Regions from separate parts of the Homo sapiens genome. Here regions 1 and 3 are each linked to region 2. Evidence: promoter capture Hi-C in 16 types of primary human blood cells and fetal thymus (Javierre and others, 2016). All regions are on one chromosome and are shown on one strand. The core of a region is centred on a gene start or on the middle of the fragment in contact, and the rest is flanking DNA. Distances in the headings are between cores, read along the strand shown. Region 1 overlaps RYR3 (ryanodine receptor 3). Region 2 holds the start of RYR3 (ryanodine receptor 3). Region 3 overlaps RYR3 (ryanodine receptor 3).

Region 1 (4,562 bases), core at 1,806-4,305, 170 kb before region 2:
ACTCTAGCATCATACTTGACTCCTCCTACCTTGATCCCTTTGCCACTCCATGAATTGTTACCCATACCTGAATTCAATGTAATCCAAGCCTATTCATCTCCTATTCACATGAGGAATCTATACAATGATCACAAGTCTATGTTTTCCTTCAGCAATAAGTCCCTATACATGTTCAGCTCCCATCCTTGCTACTTCAAAATCTGTGCCCTCATCACCTATCTTTTCTTTTGCATATGCCAAAACCATACTCAATTTAATTCCCTCTCTAGTAGTGCCATCTATTAGAGAGGAAATTAAATTGAGTGAAGCTTTGGCATATGCCAAAGAAAGTTCTATCTTTTGCATATGCCTATAGTTCTATCTTTTGGAACCTTCTCTTTCCTTTTCTAGGGCCCTTTTCTTCTCTTCCTAGAAACATGCTTGTGTCTCTTATGAAAACTTTTTCTTTACAACCTTAAAACTTTTTCTTTATAAGACTTCAATTCTACTTCAACCGTCATTTTTTTTTTCTCTTCTTCATTTAAACACTCAACTTCTTTTAAAGAGCAATGAATACTCATTGATGAGGTTCTGGTTCAGGTAATGGTGGAACTACCTATAGCAAAATAATCCTCTTGCCAATAACAATGATACATTCTGGATAAATATTTAAATAAATAACTATTTGAAGGCACCAGGGAGCAATCTAGAACTGAAAGGAATATTACTTTTTAAAGATGAGAAGTCAATCAGGTGCTATAAACATTTAATTAAATTTTCTTCTAAGGGTACTCTCCTGTTCATAGGATCCATGGGGAATAGATGTCAAGAAAAAGGCTTCTAGGAAGTAAGAGACCTGAGTATGGGGCTACCAGAATGTCTGGAAATAGAAGAGGAGAAATGTTAGGAACAAGGAAACCACCATAGATTAATAAAACCCAAGATCAGTATACAAATTCCCCTCAATTTGTTTGCCAACTCATAAGCTATATAAGACAGCATTGCTAGAAAGCAACAGCTAAAATGCTTAGAATAAGCAAAAGTTTCAACAGCTACTTATTTCTGGAATGGCAAAATTTGGTTTTCAAGTCTGGCTATTTAGAGGTGTTTAGAAAATACTGCAGGCTTTTCATTAAAATCCCAAAAGACTACATCTGGAGACCAGGAACAGCACCTTAGAACTAAGGGCAAAATTTAAATGGAGCAAGCTGGCACAAGATGAAGGAGACACACTAGTAATTTAACTGCCAGCTACAACAAAATACAATATTCCTCAGGGGGCAGACAACAGAAACCAGAATAACTATAAAATATCATCTACAATGTTCAGTATAAAATTTAAAAATACTAAATATTAAAGGAAATAGGAAAATGTGACTTATAACCAAGAGCAAAGTCAGTCATTAGAAGCAGACCTACAGACATTCAAGACGTTGAATTGGTAGTCAAGGATTTAAATAATGATTATAAATTTATTAATGAATTTACCAAAAAAATGGGAATAATGGGAGAAGAGAGAGATAATGGAAGGGGAGAAAGAATAATGGAGGAGAAAGAAGAATCTTAGAAAATAAACAGAAACCTTAGAAATAAACAACTGCAAACTTTAGAATTTAAAAATAAAAGCCTGAAATAAATTCATTAGAGGGGGTTAATAGCACATGTACATTAAAAAAGGGAATAAATAAATATAAAATAGGTCAATGGAAAGTATTCAGGCAGATGCATAGATAAAAAAATAGTTGAAGAAAAAATGGATAGAGTCATAGTGACCTGTGGAACAATATAAAACAATCTAACATATAAGTAGTTGGAGTCCCAGGAGAGAGTAAATATGGCACATAAAATATTTTAAGAAATAATGTCCCCCAAATTCTATACTTAATGAAAAACAACAACCAAAAGATCCATAAAGCTCAGCTCATCAAAATCCAGGCAAGATAAATTTAAAGAAAACTACCCTCAAACACATCATTCAGATTGCTAGAAACCTGACTGGGCACAGTGACTCACGCCTGTAGTCCCAGCACTTTCGGAGGCTGAGGTGGGAGGAGCACTTAACGTCAGGAGTTCGAGACCAGCCTGGCCAACATGGTGAAACCCTATCCCTACAAAAATACAAAAATTAGCCAGGCATGGTGGCTTGCGCCTGTAATCCCAGCTACTCAGGAGACTGAGGCAGGAGAATTGCTTGAACCTGGGAGGGGGAGGTTGCAGGGAGCGGAGATGGCGCCATTGCCCTCCAGCCTGGGTGACAAGAGTGAAGCTCCATCTCAAACAACAACAAACAACAACAACAACAACAAAAACCAAATTGCTAGAAGTCAAAGATAAAGAAAAAAATGTTAAAACTTTCCAGAGGAAAAGGTTTGTTACATATAGAAGAATGATGATAAAAATGAGAGCTAACTTTACATCATAAACAATGGAGGCAAAAGGGCAATAAGATGCCATCTTCAAAGTGCTGCAAGAAGAAGAAAAAAAACTAAATAATGATTTTTTATCCAGAGAAAAATCCTTCAAAAACAGGGACAAAATAAAGACATTCTCAGTGAAAAAGAAGCTTGGAGAGTTTGTCCCCAGCAGATCTGAAGTATAAGAAACACTAAGGAATATCCTTCAGGTTGAAGGAAAATGCTACCAGATAGAAATCTGGATCTAGAGGAGAGAAAAAAAGAGCACTGAAAATGGCAAATACATTAATTTTATAAAAGGTTCTTCTTCCCTTTTATTTCTTTAAAAGACTATTGACATTTTGAAACAAAAATAAAAATGTGTTACACATTTTAAATGGGTAGAAATAAAATCTCTGACAATAATAGCACAAAAGATATAAGGGAATTTGTATAAATATGAATGCAAGGAAAACTGTGATAAGTTAACGATTTATATTTTAATTACTAAAAAAAAAAAAAAAAAAAAGTATTCAAGGCCAGGCCTGGTGGCTCACTCCTGTAATCCCAGCACTTTGGGAGACTGAGGCGGGTGGGTCACCTGAGGTCAGGAGTTCCAGACCAGCCTGGCCAACATGGTGAAACCCCATCTCTACTAAATATACAAAAAATTAGCTGGGCCTGGTGGCAGGTGCCTGTAATCCCAGCTACTTGGGAGACTGAGGCAGGAAAACTGCTTGAACCCAGGAGGCAGAGGTTGCAGTGAGCTGAGATTGCATCATTGCACTCCAGCCTGGGTGACAGAGCAAGACTCTGTCTCAAAAAAACCCAAAAAAAAAAGTATTCAAAAATAATACTAAGAGGTAGAGCTAAAAAGCCAACAGAGAAGATAAAATGTCATAACTTTACTTTATTTAAAGGCAAAAAAGGAGAAACAGAAGAACAAAATCCAGAGGAGACAAAAGAATAGCATGAAGGTAGACTAAAACCTGAGTATCTAATTATTACAATAAATGTAAATGAATAAAACATTCCAATTAAACACCAGAGATTGTAAAATGGGGTAGGAAAACAGTACTTACCTATATGTTGTTTATAAGGGATACATTTTAAATATAAAGATATAAATACATACATAAGGTAAAAAACTGATGAAAAAGATGTACCATATAAACAGTAAGCATAAGAAAGCTTATGGCTACACTAGCATGAGTCAAAGCATACTATAAGACCAAGGACAAATAGGACAATTTGATAATGACAAAAGGATCAATTCATCATGAAAAACAAAAATTCTGAATACACATGCACCTAATAACAGAGCTTTAACATACATGAAACAAAAGTGACAGAACTAAAGAGAGACAAATCCTCATAGTTTTTAACACCTTTCTCTCAATAATTGATAAAACAGCAGACACATTTCAGTAAGGACATAGAAGATTTGAACACCCCTTTTGACCATCTTGACATCCATAAAACCTACATCCAACAACTACAGGACACACCATGTTTTCAAGACACCTGAAACATTCACCAACATAGACCATATGCTGGGCCATAAAATAAGTCTCCATACATTGAAAAAGATTGGAGTGATACACAGAATGTTTTCTGAGCACATCAGAATTAAAATAAAAATTAGTAACAATTAAAACTTATATCCCACTGATTCATTGTTTAAAACATCCACTCACTAACACTTTTTATCTAACTCCCTCTGACTCTCCTTAATATTTTACTTTTAAAAGTCACAAATATCCTCCTGATTCTTACATCCAGGCTTTCAAAAATTCAATTAGTTAATTCAGTACACATGGGCAACTTAACTAAGCCAATCAACATTTTCTGAGGACCTAATATGTGTATGACCCTGTGCTGATACTAAATGCTACTGCTTAAATATAGCACTTCTGATGTGTTAGGAACTGCTGTAAAGCATATTACAATTTTGAACCTGTGTCACTGAATCTTCATAATAATCCTATGAGATGGGTACAGTTTGAAGGATGAAGAAACTGAGGCAGAGAGCAGTAAAGTCATTTGCCCACAGTCACACAGCTAAGTGTTGGAGCCAGAATTACCAGTCCAGGCAGTCTGACTCCAGGGTCAAGTTTATTAAGCACTGTGCTATACAGAGCTATACAAAAGTCCTTGATGTCAGTGCTCACAGACTTGTGGAAAGGCAGA
Region 2 (4,056 bases), core at 916-3,415:
CTAGAAGGAAAAGAACCAATAACGCCACATTTGGAGTCACTGCCCCCATGGTTACCACCATCACTCGCTCTAAGCCATAACCGGTATGCAGTTCTCTGCAACAGGGGCTCTGAACCTGGGTCCTTGAACCCCACAGGCTGTCATGGGTGTACTTTAAAAGAGGTCTGCCAGCTCTGATCTCTAGGGCAGGAAGCCCAGGACACAAAACTTAAGAACCACTACTATAGTAAACCTTGGCTACAGGTGTACCAAAAACAAACAAAAACAAAAAACACTTACAATGCCAGATGGAGAGGAAAAGTCAGGGAAGATGGCTCAGAAGCCAAGAGAAAAGCATAAGGATCTCACAACAACTACCACCTTCCTAAGCCTCAACTCCCTGGGACATCTATTCAACACTGACCCTGTCTGAAGATAATTTTTTCAAGCAATAACGCCTAGAAGATCATTAATAATAAGGAGAAGAAATGACTGATCATGGAGGACACAAGGCAGAAAAAACCTGAGCTGCCACCCATCCACTACTAAAGACACCTGTCAGAGGGACAACCAAAGGATTTGATGGAGCTTTGAGGGGAGCAGGCAGCTTTATAACAATAGGGTTGTCATGAGTTGCAACTGTGGGGCCATCTTGTGTGCAGTGTGAGAGATGAGAATGGAGTCTGGGTCTGCAGGTCAGACGAAGGATGAAGAGATGAATACTCTAGCCTCTCAGTAGTACCAGCAGGGCGATAGGTACTTCCATACCCCCCCCAAATAAGACCCAAGTCCCAGCTTTGACAAAAGAACCATGTTTGGAAGAGAAACTGAAGTAAATTGGAAGGAAGCGCTTCAACAGGAGGAGAGTGGTTCAAAAGATGGACAAGAGGTAAGTTGTGATCTTCGAAGACCAGGTCATGGAGAAGGGGGCACCCTTAAAGGGAAGTGAGAGAGGGAAAGAAAGAATTTCATTCTAATTCCTGAGAGCAAGGCAGCGCATATAAAATTACCTAAGATTTACAGAGCGATTTGCCGTTTACAAAACATTATGACATTCACGATAACGTTTAATCCTTATCACCCTGAAACGCTGGTTACATTTTATTTTACACATGAGGAAACTGAGGCTGAGTAGGGCGGATTATGCGACTTGCTCAAGGTCACTTGGCTGAAGTCAGCGCTAGGATGCATCCCCAATGCCCCCACCCCTCCGGGTGGCCGTCCACCCTGAAAGTCTTTGTATTATCTCCTACAGGGCAAGGCTGGTGTGGCTGCAACAGACTTCGCCCCCTCACCCCCAAATCTGGGACGGAGCAGCGCCCTCAGGTGTCAAGGAGGGGACCTGAGTGACGCGGAGCCACTGACTGGGGTTTCCCTGTCCTGCGGGGCTCGCGGGAGCCAGGAGCAGAAGCCACAGCTCTCGAACACACGACAGGCAGTCAGTCAAGTCAGGCTCCAGCAGCAGTTGCCGGCGTGGGGCTTAACACGAGAGGGGCAGCGCTGGGTGAATTCCCCTCCGAGCGATCCCAGGGCTAGGACCAAGCGCCTGCGCCCGCTTCTCCGACCCGGCTCCCCACACTCCCCCCTGCCCCGCTGGCTCCTTCCCGGAGGTTCCCCTGTGCGTGGGGGCGCCCTGGAAGAGGAATGGGGCTGGGGTGGAGTATGGAGGTGTCAGAGGGCCGACCCCGGGGCGAGGGCTTCCAACGCCGATCTTATGGGTCAGGACAACCGCGAACAAACCCCGGCTGAAGTTTGGGCATCAAGGGTTTCAGACCAAGTAGCAAGTTGCCTGGAGAGCGAGCGGTCCTAGGTGGAGGGCCTGGGGCAGGGGTGGCGGTAGGGGAACAAGGGAGAGGCAGGAGATGGTGCCCCTTCCCACGCAGCCCCTCGCGGCCCCGCGGGTAGGTGGCCGGTCCGCCTCTGCAGCCCGCGGGTGCGGAGAAAGCGCCCGGCACCGGGCACCCGGCACCGCGGCGCAGCGCAGCCAGCCCCTCCTCGCCGCGCTCCGCGCTCCTCCCCACCTGCCCACGGCCTCGCCCCCGCCGCGGAGACTCACAGTCCTCAGAAACTGGATCTCGTCCTCGCCTCCTTCTCCCCCTTCGGCCATGGCTCCCGAGGCGTCGGCGGTGCCCCAGCCTCCGGCGCCTCTGCTTCCCCCGGCAGCCGCTCGGCGTGCGCTGACTGCTGCTGCGCTCTTTCTCCTCCTCCTTTTCGTCCTCGTCCTCCACCTCCTCCTCCAGCTCCTGGCTCAGCCTCAGCCTCAGCAGCGCCAAGCTAATCCCCGACCATATAGGGAGCTGGGCTAACACTCCACTGCACTGCAGAGCGCCAACGCCAACCAAGCAGTCCGCCCACCCCTCTCGCCTCTCGCCCCAGCCAAGTGCGCTGCGGCCGCCCGCTCCGTGGAGAGCGCAACGCTGGGCGCGTCGAGCTGGCGGGGGCGGTGCGGGGGCCCTGGGCTGGCGCGGTGGAGCCTCCCCCGCACCGCTGGGTACCGCACCGCACACTCAGCGGAGGCGCGCGCCCCGCGGCGACCGGAGGATGTCCCCTAAACTGCTCCAATTCACAAACAAAGGCCAGTTGCTTAGCTCCAGCGCGCCCAGACTGGGTACCAACCCTCTCGCTTTGCTCGCTTTGCCCGCTTTGCCCACTTTGCCTGTGTGTGTGTGTGTGTGTGTGTGTGTGTGTGTGTGTGTGTGACAGAGATAGAGAGAGAGAGAGAGGAAAGAGAGAGACAGAGACAGAGAGAGAGAGAGAGGAAAGAGAGAGACAGAGACAGAGAGACAGAGAGAGGAAAGAGAGAGAGACAGAGACAGAGAGAGAGAGAGAGAGAGAGAGAGAGATCTGGACTCGAATACCTTGCTAGGACCCGCGTGCATTGTTGGGCAAGGAGAAGACGGTGCAGTGAGGAGCGAGGGTGATTGTCCACTTACAACAAAGTTTGCAACTCCCTGGATAGTCCTTTCTACACCTTAAGAGAACCCCTTCCCCTCTTCAAAATTGGTAAGTACACTTTACCAAACCCCTGGATTGTCCAGGGTTGCTGTGACTTCTGTACCCCAGGGAGCTTCTGGGGGATCCTGTGCCACCCTCAATTTGGAAGTCAGGTGGCATCACAACCCTTCCTCTCTGCCCACCCCTAACCTTATTCTGCATTTAGAGTTCCAGCCCTGTGGACTCTAAAGGGAGTAGAGAGTAGTTACAGGAGGCTCCCTTCCAGGTCCTGGAAGGCTCCTACATCCCACCCAGCCTTAGGTCCTTTTCCATGGTTGGGGATTGCCAGATTGGTCCTTGCCTTGACTGACGGTGCAGGGTGCCCCCTTCTGTTTGATGGCCGAGAAGCTCCAAGGCAAGAGACTGTTCAAGGCAAAAGGCACCAGAGATGTAGATTTAGGAGGAAGTGCAACTGGGAAGGTGGTAATTCTGGGCTGATGATGGTGGAAGACACTGGAAACCCCAAGCCATTTCACAGCTTCATATACCGCCTCCTTGTGGACGACATCTATCTCTTGATGCTACCTTAAGATCTCTTTCCTGAGCTTCCGTCCCATATGTTCTGATGAACATCAGAAATGCAAAGAAAAATGTTTTTTTCTTGTATTGTACTCAAACTGCTACCTTCTAGGCTTCAGCTTGGGCCTTGTGCCTCTTCTGAAACCCGCCTAGAATAAGTCAAACCATCTGTACATTGTGGCCCTTCACCTCTTAGAAGGCATCTGCCATGCTTGCCTCTATGGCCCACCATCCACTCTTTTCTTCTCCTGGCTCAAGGTTCTTCTTAGCCCCAACTTTCCCTGTAGTATAGTTTCCAGAGCCTATGTCATCTTTGATGGCCATATGAGCATTCCAGGTGGTCTTCTTCCTGAATTGTTGTGCTCTCCGTCCTTGTTTTGGACAGTCTTTATGTGCAGCCTAATATTGGATTGGCTTCTGGAGAAACACTAATGACACTCACTGTGTTTGGAGTTAACTAGAATTTCTAGATTTACTTTTTTCCTCCCACGTGAACTGCAAAAGTCAGCTCTTCTCCATCTTGATCACATGCAAGTGCTTGAGTACCTGTGGGCACGGTGGCTC
Region 3 (4,232 bases), core at 175-2,674, 240 kb before region 2:
TAATTCACCCTTCCCTGAAAAAAATTCAATGCTGTAAACTGACATTGAGTCATGACATCTAAACAGACAATACTGCCGTGCAGGAGTAAATATTAAATCACATTATCTGAAATCCTTGTGGGAATGGCCTTGCAATGTCAAGACCATGGAAAAATGATGTGAAATCAAGTTCATAGAAATTTGACTTAGATGTTCAAAATAAAATGAATCTCTCTCATTGGGTGTGTACTGGGAAGAGATTACAGTAGCAAAATGATTACACAAGGATGGCAGGATGTTTCTGTAAAGATAATGGAGGTTGGCCAGGCACAGTGGCTCACGCCTGTAATCCCAGCACTTTGGGAGGCCGAGGCGGGCGGATCACGAGGTCAGGAGATCGAGACCGTCCTGGCTAACATAGTGAAACCCCGTCTCTACTAAAAATACAAAAAAATTAGCCCGGTGTGGTGGTGGGTGCCTGTAGTCCCAGCTACTCGGGAGGCTGAGGCAGGAGAATGGCGTGAAGCCGGGAGGCGGAGCTTGCAGTGAGTCGAGATCGCACCACTGTACCTCCAGCCTGGGCAACAGAACGAGACTCCACCTCAAAAAAAAAAAAAAAAAAAAAGATAATGGAGGTTAGAATGAAATGGATTTCACTCTATTTCAAGGTATGACCACACTGATGTAACCCTTCAGCAAGCATTTTTCAAACTTACTACAAGACGTTCTGGGATGCAAAAATAAAGCAGGGTGGGGTATGTGTGGTCCTTGTCATCCAGGGCCTCCCAGTCAAGGAAGTGATGGCCTTAATAATGCATGAGCAGGTTTTCCTCTCACAAAGAGCACTTGACACTCGCCTGAAAGCATGAGAAGGCGCTCACTGTGGTAGAGTGCAGAGGGGCAAAAGGCGTTCAGGCACAAGTTTGGTGGTGGTTAGAAAAAAACAAATATGTTCCAAGACTGATAAATAGTATGCCGGAGCTCAAGGCAACCTCAGGCAAGTGGCAAGAGACGCAATGGAAGGGCAGGCAGCAGTCAGGTCTGAATGATCTTTTATGACAGACTTCAAATGAGGTGCAAATTGATGAAGAATTGTGTTCCAGGTCTCACAGAGAGCAGATGAGAATCAAGGCCCGATCTAGGCTAACTTTGAAGCCAGGCTTTGTCTTACACAACACCACTCTCAGATCAAAGGGATAAGGCTGGGATGCTGTATTTTGGAAGTAATACTACATCCTAGCTCTCCAATTTGAGTTGCATCAGCTGCTGAAGTTGGGGGAAGGAGGACCTTGATCAAGATCACATCCTGCTCCTTGCTCCTTATTCTATGTGATTTGTATAGCCTGCTCAAAGTCTTCAGTCTGATTCCATTTGAGCCAGGCCCGGCCAATAACTGCAGCTGGTTGGTTCTTGGACTTGGTCACCTTTCAGCAAGGCTCAATCACACCTCCATCTTATGCACATACAAGATGCACTGGGGCACCTGCCATCTTCCTGCTAATGGCAGGCTGCTAAGGATGTTAGCACGCACCTGCAGCTGTCCAGTGGCCCCTAATTTAGTAGTCATAACTGTCACAAGCTAATGCAACCTGACAGAAAATGTGGACTGGGAAGCTCGTCATTACCAAATGACTCACGGCCCAGCACACCCAGTGTCCTCCCAAAACACATGACTAAAGCCCCAGCAGTGCTCTTCCCAAGAGCCTCTTTTTCTCCTTTTTCAGATTCTCCAACATATGGAAAGGATCAGATGAATACCCTGCTTCCTCGCCCTCTGCCCCAGTCCCATAGAAAACAGATGACTGTCTCCACCACTCCCTCAGCCTTCCCAACTCCTATGCCACCACACAGATCCTGAACCGCTATCTCAGGCTACCATTTGCCACCTACTCTGTCACATAACACCTGTAGCAGGCAAGGGCTGGCGAGATGATTCAGTGCCCTTACATTGTTGAGAAACAGAGCCCCAAACCTCTTTCTGCTGGGTATTGTCACTAGCGCCCAGGGAGGGGAAGCACAGAGAATGCATTTAAGGAAAGCCCGTGCCAAGCAAGGCAAGAATATGCTTACTAAGCAGGCACATGGAAGCCCAGGAAAATCAGGGCCTTTCTACCGCCCTTCCCCCACAGTTATTTGGATGGTGTATGACAGTTATGTGTTCTCCACATGCTCTTCCTTATTGTGCAGCTTCACAGTCTAAGGTGCCAAAGCCCTGCCCACACAACGTCCCAAAGAAACCCTGACATCCAGTGGGAACACAGCCATATCTTGGCCTGCCATAGAGCCTAAGCCATTTTAATTTCAGTTCCTTTCAAATTGAAATGAAGGTAGCTAGGTTGAATACTACCGCATGGAGACTTATTTAAAATCTCTAGCATAGTGACTCCAGTGAAATGTAACCACATTGCCAAGTGCACAGGACAATGTGACTCATGGGTGACTTTTGCCCCCAGCTCTGCTATGCCGATGGCCCCCGTGGTACCATGACGACTTTCCACCCATGCGCTGCTTGCTTCTCCATACGTGGAAATGGAGGAACTTGGGGAGATGAGCAATGGACCCTTTGAAGGGAAATGTATTCAGAGGCCAGAAGTGATGCCAAGTGGAAGGAGTGTTACAAGGTCTCTATGGGGCTCTGAGCTTTCCTTGCTTCCCCCAGAGACCACAGCACAGTGCTGACCCATGCTCCACAAGGCTGAGCCAAGAATGGAATATAATGGAAGAGTCCCCTTGGAACAGGATCCTGCCAGCTGCCTGGAAGGCCGCCTGATCCTGTGCTGGAAGAAAAGCCCCTTTTTGAAATGGTAAAGACCTCGAGGTCATTGCTCTAACCCTGGCAGCATATCCCGAGTGGGTCAAGGAGAAAGGGGGTAGAAGGCTCAAATAAGGAAAGGGCCAAACTGGCATTCTTAGGAAAACACTTGCTTGGTCATTAGCCACGATGAGTCATTTCTTATTTTCCACCTCCCTCTTCTACTGCCGCCCACCTTCAGCTCCCACTCCATGTCCCAGTCTCTGTTCTTACGACTTTCCTGTTGCTTTGTTTCACTGAATCTTTCAGAAAGTTGCACTGCTCTAAATCACTTCCTGGAGGCAAAAATATTCACTAAATAGATATAAATTTGAATTTAAAGAATCCCTCTTGTGCTGGGAATCTAAAAAAAAATGATAGCAAAGTGAGGAAGATATGCTCAGAAAACCAGAATGAAATCAGAGTCAATAGCCATTGGAAGAGAAGCAGAAGGAAGATGACATTTGAGAGACGGTTAGGAAGATGTGAACAGGAAGCTCATGTCTTTTAATATTTGAAATAAAGATATGAAAAAAGCCCAATTCTGATATAGGGCAATATTAAAGAGAAAAAACTACATGCCAAAGAGTTTCTCTGCCTAAAAAGACCACAGGAGCACAAAATGAGGGAGAAAACAGACTCCGAACCCCTGCACCAAAGAAGGGGACAGTGCTGACTATCTTCTTCAGGTGCATTAGGAAGCAGAGATGCCCCACAGAAAATTCAGCTGTCAGCCTCACACCTAGTCCTAGATGAACAGAATCCTCAACAACCCTTGAGTGAAGTCATGGTGAGAACACATATCAAGATTTATTTCTGGAAAAGAGCAAAGAATGAAACTAAAGGTGACGCTCCCAAAGGAGATATTGAGCTATACTCTTAGGAAGTGCAGACTTCCTGCTAACTGTGCAAGCATCTGTGCAGAGCCCTTCTCATGCTTGGATGATCTTTCCAGAACACTCATAAAGTGACAGACCATCCAACTGTCTGTCAGAAGTTAGCTCAGCATGCAATTCTGACCGTTCAGCTAGATCCAGCACTGAGTTAGACAGAGTAGAAGCTTGGCTGAACCTTAAAGGAGGCGGTTTCTAAAAAAGAATAGTTGTCTACATACACATCAAATGGTAAAGCAATTAATTCGAGGTTAACCTAACTACCAGAGGATCCATCCTTAATGAAGGTTTGGGATGGATGGGAGAAAACTAAGAGATGTGGGGAGTAGGGATAGTTAAGGAAAAGAACGAGGAAGGTACTAGTAAATTTTATCATATAGATATTAATAACTGCAAGATAATGTTATGTCCAGAATGTCTTCTCTGCATCATTAAAAAAATTTAAACAAATATAGCACTGAAACTCATGCTTTTTACATTTAAATCTTTTTTTTGTTTAACAAATTACCTTTTTATTTAAACAAATGTAGCTCTGAAACTCATGCCTCCATGTTACTATTGCTTTAAAG

Evidence for each region. Contacts are between HindIII fragments. The CHiCAGO score rates a contact against its expected background, and 5 or more counts as called.
Region 1: a contact is called between a fragment that was not itself captured here and the fragment with the promoter of RYR3 in region 2, in 2 of 17 cell types (megakaryocytes and erythroblasts). The highest score is 5.8, in megakaryocytes.
Region 3: a fragment that was not itself captured here is called in contact with the fragment with the promoter of RYR3 in region 2 in 2 of 17 cell types (erythroblasts and megakaryocytes); the score reaches 7.3 in erythroblasts.

What each region holds. Positions count from the first base shown.
Region 1 is chr15:33,480,129-33,484,690 of GRCh38, reverse strand. All of the region lies in intron 2 of RYR3 (ryanodine receptor 3), which reads right to left. Among named protein-coding and RNA genes, the nearest start is that of RYR3, 170 kb to the right of the region's middle. The HindIII fragment of the contact is 1,021 bases long and covers 2,545-3,565 here.
Region 2 is chr15:33,309,076-33,313,131 of GRCh38, reverse strand. RYR3 (ryanodine receptor 3) reads right to left here and starts at 2,165. Exons shown (of 104, transcript NM_001036.6): 1 at 2,036-2,165. The coding sequence starts at 2,086. RYR3-DT (RYR3 divergent transcript) reads left to right here and starts at 2,473. Exons shown (of 3, transcript NR_120327.1): 1 at 2,473-2,554. RefSeq lists enhancers at 923-1,432, 1,433-1,944. The HindIII fragment of the contact is 6,631 bases long and covers 1-4,056 here.
Region 3 is chr15:33,550,664-33,554,895 of GRCh38, reverse strand. The region is part of intron 10 of RYR3 (ryanodine receptor 3); the gene reads right to left. Among named protein-coding and RNA genes, the nearest start is that of RYR3, 240 kb to the right of the region's middle. The HindIII fragment of the contact is 4,816 bases long and covers 1-3,832 here.